Linked DNA regions of Homo sapiens: region 2 is linked to region 1. The links are contacts of gene promoters, found by promoter capture Hi-C in blood cells and fetal thymus (Javierre and others, 2016). All regions are on one chromosome and are shown on one strand. The core of a region is centred on a gene start or on the middle of the fragment in contact, and the rest is flanking DNA. Distances in the headings are between cores, read along the strand shown. Region 1 holds the start of PARP8 (poly(ADP-ribose) polymerase family member 8). Region 2 overlaps PARP8 (poly(ADP-ribose) polymerase family member 8).

The links. The method cuts DNA at HindIII sites, captures the fragments that hold promoters and counts their contacts. A CHiCAGO score of 5 or more calls a contact.
Region 2: a fragment that was not itself captured here is called in contact with the fragment with the promoter of PARP8 in region 1 in 11 of 17 cell types (activated CD4 T cells, neutrophils, M0 macrophages and 8 more); the score reaches 9.6 in activated CD4 T cells.

What each region holds. Positions count from the first base shown.
Region 1 is chr5:50,664,768-50,668,741 of GRCh38, forward strand. It overlaps PARP8 (poly(ADP-ribose) polymerase family member 8), which reads left to right and starts at 1,870. Exons shown (of 26, transcript NM_024615.4): 1 at 1,870-2,419; 2 at 3,304-3,358. The coding sequence starts at 2,329. RefSeq lists silencers at 1,713-1,862, 1,913-1,972, 2,665-2,994 and enhancers at 2,145-3,057, 2,493-3,692. The HindIII fragment of the contact is 4,109 bases long and covers 147-3,974 here.
Region 2 is chr5:50,764,471-50,768,527 of GRCh38, forward strand. All of the region lies in intron 7 of PARP8 (poly(ADP-ribose) polymerase family member 8), which reads left to right. Among named protein-coding and RNA genes, the nearest start is that of PARP8, 100 kb to the left of the region's middle. The HindIII fragment of the contact is 828 bases long and covers 2,179-3,006 here.

The DNA.
Region 1 (3,974 bases), core at 620-3,119:
TTATCTTGCAGAAATACATACTAGATAGGTTTTTATTTTTTAATCTTACTCCTTCAAATGTACAAATATTTATTAAATACATCACACCTTAAGGGCATGAACAGGGTGAGGTTAGCTTTGTTTAACCAAAACAGGGCAGCCCATGAAGCTTAAAAAAAAATCAAATATAGGACAAGTCACAAGAAGGCCTATTTTAAGGAGTGAGTAGTAAACTAAGAGCTCATCCAGACAAAAAAATATTTGGTAGCTTTAAAACTATTTCACATTTATTTGTAGTAAGGGTTCTACTTGGAAGATGCAAGCCTTGTGGCTAGATAACTATAAAATAAATTCTTGTGAGTTAATAGACTTTCAGCCTTTCAGAGAAATTAAAGCACATAATGGAAGAAGAAATACTCATGATTCTCAGTGGTGATGTGGAAGAGAAGAGAGCATTTTTGGCAGCCAAAGGGCCTACACAAAGCAACATATCCAGGAAGGACAAAGGGCTTGAACCTGTCCTACCCTAAACAGGAAGCATTTCAGGAGAGGACTGAGCAGGAGATATAGACTGTTGTGACTGTGGCTTTACTACATCAAAGGCTGCAGTGGATCTCAATAATGCAGAATGTTTCCTTTTGTAACTCATAGTGAATATGACTGGACAAGGAAATTATTTTGTAATTTGTTTCCTGAAAGATAAAGGAGTTAGAACATAGGATCTTTCATTGATTCTACAGAATCTTAAGACTCCTTCAGGGATGGCAGTCATTCCTACCGTGCTGAACATCATGTTGTCACGGTCAGAATCAGAACTAAATTGATTAAGGGTCTGAAACAGTTTGGCAACTCTTGGGCACTTATGCTGATAAGAAAAGTGATGAGACAGGGTAATGAAAAGAGGCTGCAAGAAATGACCATTCGTGCATTCAGCCAACATTTAGGCCACCCTCCTGTATTCCAGGCACTGTACATGGCACTGAGTATGCAAAGCAAAAGGAGTCATGGTCTACTGGCGGGAGCCTTCTCAGTGGAGAAAAGATCAACAAGAAAAGTGCCTGCTGGAGACCTCTCCTAGGGCATAAACCAATATAGAGGTGGGGCAGCTACGTCAGCCTGGGGTGTCCTTAGGCAGAACAGAAAGTGAGAATCAGAGCAGTATCTCATTTCTGAACACCTGGATTGTAGCTTTCCCTTGACTGTCAAAGGAGGTGGTTTTAAAAATCAAGCCAAACAGGTTTCCATCTTTTAGGAAGACCCTGGAACGTGCCAGTTGATTCTGACCATTTCTCATGAACAGAAACACCTAGGAAGGGAGAACTGGTGAGTTTCAAGAGGAGGAAGTCCCTCAAAAGGGGCTGTGTTTCGTAAACGGCGCCCCAAAAGGGCTGAACTACTTCGATCTGGAGGAAAAAGACTCAGGCACTGAGGGAAGGGGAGGGTGCACGTCTGGAGTAATTTTAAGGCCTTTTCCGTGTTATGTGATGTGGCAATAAGGAAAGATTTGTTCGTTTTATTATTTTTTTAATTTTTAAAGATTTTCTTTTCCCCCCTTTTCCCCCTCCCAGCCACTCCGGTTTGGGTTTGCCACAAGACTATAATTCCTTTAGAAAGTGGAGTCGAATTCATAAAAGTGATGGGGGGAGGGGCGCGGAGAGGGAAGGCTGGGAGCCCCAGGGAGTCTTCACGACCGCTCAGCTCCCGGCGCGAGTGGAGGTCGGTGTGGGGAGAAGCGGCTCCCGCCCGGGATGGCTAATACTCTGCGAGCCCCGGCAGCCCGCGGCCGGCGGGGTGACTAGGCGGCGGGCGCGGAGGGTCTGCGGCGGGCGGGCGGCGCTGCAGCAGCCTGGGCACGGCTGCCGCCGCCCGCGGGCGCGAGTGTGCGCGGGTGTGGAAGGCCGGCGTGCGAGCCGTGAGGGGTGTGCGCGCGTGAGCCGGAGCGGGGCTCGCCCCTCGCCGGCGCCCGCCGCCCAGCCGGTGATTGCTCTCTGGCTGTCCCCGGCACCTCGGCCCCCACGGCCGTTGGTCCGGGCGGGTGAGGGAGAAAGTGAGACTTGGTGTCATCACCATCCATTGTCAGAAGGGGAGGAAATTGGAATCCAGCAGCGGCGAGCAGCAGCTGGGCGGTCACATCTGGGAATGCAAAGCCGACCTCCCCCTCCTCCTCCTCCTCCCCCTCCTCCTCCTCCTCTTCTCTCACCCAGGATCACTTCCGAAACCACTTCGCCTTCAGCCCCTGCCTCGGCCAGAGGTTTCATTTTTAACTGAATATTTACGAAAGCTGGAAGCGTGCGAGGGGGGTGGGGTGGGGTGGAAATAGCGGCTGCTTCTTTTCCAGGGATTTATTTAATGGGGATGTGTTCAAGGCAAGAGCGAATTCAGAAGGATATCGACGTCGTGATCCAGAAGTCCAGAGCTGAGAAGGACTGCCTGTTTGCAGGTGAGTTCTTGCTTTTCCAGAACCTCGGACCCAGCGCCCCCTTCCCAGTTTTCTGACCGCGACGTCTGTGGCTGGGGGTGGGGTGGAGGGTTGCACGTCCCCATTCTGGGGTTCATTTGGCAACAGCTGCTGCAACGAGCGCGGGAGCCAAAAGGGGGAGGGGGCGCCAGCCTCTCCCCTTCCCCTCCCCCACCGCCAAGTCTGAGGCAGCCACCAGCTTTGAGGGCAGAGCCCGCGTGGCCGGAGCGGGGGTCTAGGCGAAGGGGCAGTGCGTGGTATTTCCAGCCCCGCGTAGTGCCCGAAGCCTCCAAGCACGCTTCCTGGGTTCCAGCAGCGGCGGCAGAGCGGGGTTGGTTTGCGCAATGGGCTGAGCGGCGGCGGCCGGGAATGGAGCCTGCTGCGCTGCGCTGCGCTTGTAAGCTGCGCCCGGCGCCGAGGACCCCCGGGGGGCAGCGCTCGGCCCATCTCCGGCCCCTTCGGCTCCCTCTAGTCCCCTCCGACTGGCAAAGAGAAGGGATTCCTCGGATTCCCAAGGCACCCAGCGCCCCTGCCTGGGGGTCGCCTTTCGTCCATTTTGCTCCCCCGGGATTTTGCTTTCGCTACCGCGAGCCCGGCTGAGGCTGCTTCCGGCCTCCCCTATCGGGAAATTCCCGCTGTTGCCATGGCACCCGGCACTTGTTGCGGGGGGCGGCCTCCCGCTGCACCCAGTCGGGGGCGCGCCGCATCCCCTCGGACGCGGCGCAGAGGGACCTCGCCGCCCTCTAGCCCTTGCCTTCTGCCCGGCCAGGCCTCCCCTGACACCACCGAATGTGGGGCTCAAGTCCTGATCGGGGTTAAAACAAATCCACTCCAGGGGTAGCTTTTGACGGGACTTTCTGTTTCAGATTTCAGATACTCTGACTCCACCTTTACTTTTACCTACGTTGGCGGCCCCAGAAGGTATTTATGTGTATAGAGTTGCTTCATTTCCTGTTCACACTCTTGTGTTTCCTTTGTTCTTAGCGTGTTCCGTGTTCGGGTATTTTGGTTGCTTGTTTGTTTGATTATTGTGGCTTTTCTTTACCTGCTACCCAAGCCTGACGTCCCTCGGTTTTAAATAGCAGGAGGAGGGGAATCAATGTTTGATTCAGGTGTTTCGAGGACCACGCCACAGGCAATGAGCAGAACTCTTCATGTTGAAACTGTTCTGCTACAGTACTAGATTGCTCTCAGGCGATTTGGGGTTGATACAGGCACGCCGGTGCAAAACTGGAATACTGGATATGAAGTGAAATGTATAAAAGACATAAAATGTCACAAAATAGTTTGATCAGAAGTGTTGATTTTCCTGGTGAGTTGGGGCTGCGTGTTTCCATGTTTTCTGAAGGTTTACATAAACATGCAGCCTGCCAATTCTCTGTACATTTTTTTTTCAATGAGTGGTATTTCGGTTTTCACGTATAGAAATTGGAGACTTATATGTAGCTGGAGTGGATGACTTCTTTCTTTTGGGGGAAGAATGAGAGATGCACATTTCGTTAGTAAATTGTGAACAACTTGAAACAAACCCAAATCC
Region 2 (4,057 bases), core at 1,343-3,842, 100 kb after region 1:
TTTATAATTGCCAAACATTTTATTTTAACTGCAGAAATAGAAACTCCCTACCATCTGCAGCCTAAGATAAACTGGGATTGTGTACCCAGGCTGTCTCTGTTCTATTCATGAAGGTATATTAGGCTACAATTGAGTGAAAGTGTTGGGATTATATTTGGAAAAGCAAGTCTTCTCTTTGCAGACTTCAAAGTTTTAGCAAATTAGCTGCAATAATTTTACATTGATCTCTGTTATGGCTCCAGATTAGGTAATATGCATATTTATAAGTGTTATAGAATGCATATATGAAGAAGGCAATTGGGACTATCAATACATAGTCCAAAACAATGGCTGTGTTTTTTTCTTTTTTTTTTTTTTAACAGTAATTGAACTTTGCTTGAAAGCTTAAAACTTTAATTTTAAGCACAATAATCTACATCTCGATATACACCAAAATATGTCTATGGGATATAACAATCATAATACAACATAGACTTCAACTTCTTTTTTTTTGAAATATATATTTTGGTTGCTGGGCGCGGTGGCTCATGCCTGTAATCCTAGCACTTTGGGAGGCCGAGGAGGGCAGATCCCCTGAGGTTGGGAGTTTGAGACCAGCCTGCCCAACATGGAGAAACCCCATCTCTACTAACAATACAAAATTAGCCGGGCATGGTGACAGGTGCCGGTAAACCCAGCTACTCGAGAAGGCTGAGGCAGAAGAATCGCTTGAACTCAGGGGGCGGAGGTTGCAGTGAGCTGAGATCGTGGCATTGCACTCCAGCCTGGGCAACAAGAGCGAAACTCCGTCTCAAAAAAAAAAAGAAAGAAATATTTTTGTTTAGTGGACAACTTTAGCACATGTTTATTTCTTTTATAGTTAAATATTTTTCTAAAACATCTTTCCATGCTGTCTAGGCCCCAGTCATATTGCCATGTATAGATGAAGGTCTTTTTTTGTTCCTTCACCAAGCATTTGTTAAGTACCTATGATGGTCTGTATCAGTATTTTCTATTATTAATTAAGTTAGTGATAATTGTTAGCTGCTGAAATTAGATTAAAAAATGTTTGGAAATTCAGTCAAATGAAGTATCTAAAGTCATATCAGTGTTTTGAATTTTTTCCCCTTAACCCTTTTCACTTGTAATAGTTTTGATCCAGTTTAAATCTTAATGAATGTAAGCCATGTTCCTGCCTGCTCTAGATTTTCTCTAGCTGTAGAGGATATTTCCAAAATAAATATCTTCCTAGAGTCTTCATGGTACAAAGGTGAATCACAGCAGGACTAGTTTGATTTACTTAAATGGGAATGAATTTACTGTCTAGTTTCAAATACTTAGGCTTGGATTCAAGGGAAAAGAGGTGGGTAGTTAGGCAGAAGGTCTTGAAATCATCTTCCTTGCAAAGTTCTAAGTCTGTTGAAAACAGACTGTTCTAATTAGCTGTTCTTTTACCTAATTGGGGCTTACAAGAACTTAATGAAGTTTGAAGAGCAAAAGTAACTCAATATGCACAACAGGCTATTAGGAGTAATTTTTTTTTTTAAAGCAACGTCTAATGAGAAAGGCAGCTAACCACATCTAAGTTCTCTGTAAGAGATGGAAGTAACTGAGATTGCCTAGGCAAAATCCTGAGATTATTGAGGCAAAATCCTCTTAAAGAAGGCTGAAAGAAGGTGTAGAAAAAGTGAGTGATGATAGATATATTACTTAAGTAGGTAATGACAATTCTACCTCACCATTCTATCCAAAAGCCTACTACTGGCTGTTGAATCATACATGTAAACATTGATGATAATTCTGATTTATAGTCTTTTGTATAGGAAGTGAGTTAGGTCTTGGGGCAACATGAACTTTGCGATCAGTCTGAATAAGTCTCATCTTGAATCATTCAACAAAACGCATTTTATGTTTTTCATTGTAAATGTACCTCCCTATATATTTATGAAAATAAAATTGATCAGTGTCATTGGAAAATAAATTGAAATTAGTATTTTTAGAAAGGGAATTACAGATCAGAAAATTCATATTTGTTTAGGAAAGAAATGATTCTGATAGTTTCTTTGTGAAATTTAAAACTTCCATTTAATATAAAATATTCTTTACCTTATTATCATGCCATCTTTCATTTAGAAAATTTAAGTCATATGAGTAATAGTCTAACCTTTTTATTGTGACTAATGCTTAATGTAGGCTGGAAGCTTCTAAAATTGTGACTGTTCTATTGTGACTGTTCTATTGTGAATAGTCAACTGTTGTGACTATTTCGATCACTTTTTGTGCACAGACAATTGTAATTGGGCCTTTTGAGGGTAACGTTTGGGAAACGAGCATTCTGAGAATTTGGGGTGGCTTAAGGAACGTATATCACGTTACTCATACCCACCAAACATGTATCTCCTTTAAAAAACAAAAATGGTAAATGAAAGGAAAGAAAAAAAATGCATACCTCAGAATGCACTGCTTTACATTCTCTGGATTTCTGAATTCTCATTTGTAGTGGCCAGTAGGACTGCTTACATATCTTCTGGTTCTCCTGTTCTGGTCTTATGGTAGGATTGTATTTCCTTTCACTCTTTAGTGTTAGGCATGGATATATCACTAATTTTGGCCAGTCATATGTGAGCTAAGTGCTAGTGTGTTAGTTCCCATGTCCCCTCAGCTCTGCTTCCTTGGGCCCCTTAGTGACGACAGTGAGCTGCCCCTCCCTAACCCCCAATTCTATATTAACAATAAGGTAGGAGTGAGATAGAAATCTTTTTTCGTTTTGAGCCACTGAGATTTTAAGAATGCTTATTACCACAACATACCTCAGCCTACATAGATGTATATCATTCATCAAAAAAAGATCTTGGATTGAATATTTTGTAATCTCCTTTCTAGCATATTGAGTCTTCATCCTCTGCCTCCAAGCCAAAGAATAAAAACAGTCTGACTCTGAAAATCAGGGAAGTGATGACAGGAGGCACAGAGGGGAAAGAAAGGAGAGAGCATTTTCCCAAACCACGGGGACATAATCTAGATGTAAGCTTCAGGTGCTCAGATCCTAGACACTAACCACTACTCCCAACGCAAGGGCTTTCTCCTAGCAAAACTGAAGATTTTTAAGCTGACTGCAGAGTTGTAGCAGTTGTTTATACTGTACCTCTTATGCACAGTTTTACATGAGCTTCCTTTCTTATCTGGATCTAATTTTTAAATTTTTCTCAGCCCTGTTGTTCTTTAGAGAAATTTATAGCTACCTTGGATGCAGTCTTGCAAATGCTTTAATCTGCCAGAATTTCTTCCTGACTACTGAGTTTGCATATTTCTTGGCCCATTCACAAACATCTCTCCCACGCTGGGCAAAAACCACACATTGAGTAGGCATGCAGAGATAGACATGCAAGCTGTTGAGTTTCAGATGACATGGGAAGGTGTATGTATCTTCACAAAATATCTGTCTTCTCAAAATATAACCATCCAGTTGTTGAAAGAAGAAATAAACAAGTAGCAATAGAGGCTTACTTCCTAGGAACATGTGGTAGAGTTGCATGCATGCACGTATGTGTATATACATATATGTGTGTGTGTGTGTGTGTGTGTTCCCTGACAGTTAATAAGACAAGGCTAGATATCTGAAATATATTTTCATAACCAACACAATGACTGCTGATTTTGATCAGGTTTCATTATAAAACATCATAACAGTGTAATGAATAAGCTGAAGTTTTATAGACAAAGGAGGACCAACATAGATGCTCCAACATTTAATATATTGTAAGTGTGTATGTGAGTGTCTCACGAGTGAGGATATTGTCTTGAGTAGTTCCATTAAAAATAGGAGAACAAATTGCTAAGAATTCTAACACAGTGGCTCAAAGTCCATATTCATTGAAAAAAAAAACTTTATACATATATGCTTAAATGAACTAAGTCACATTTAAATATCCAAAATCAAATTACCAGATTTCAAGAAATGTAGATTAAAAGAGTAGCTCACCCTGAATTTAATATGTCACTACATGTCGGGAAAGAACATTTGTGGAGGCATTCTTTTCAGACCAGAATGAAGCAATTTCGTTAGATCATTTCTGTA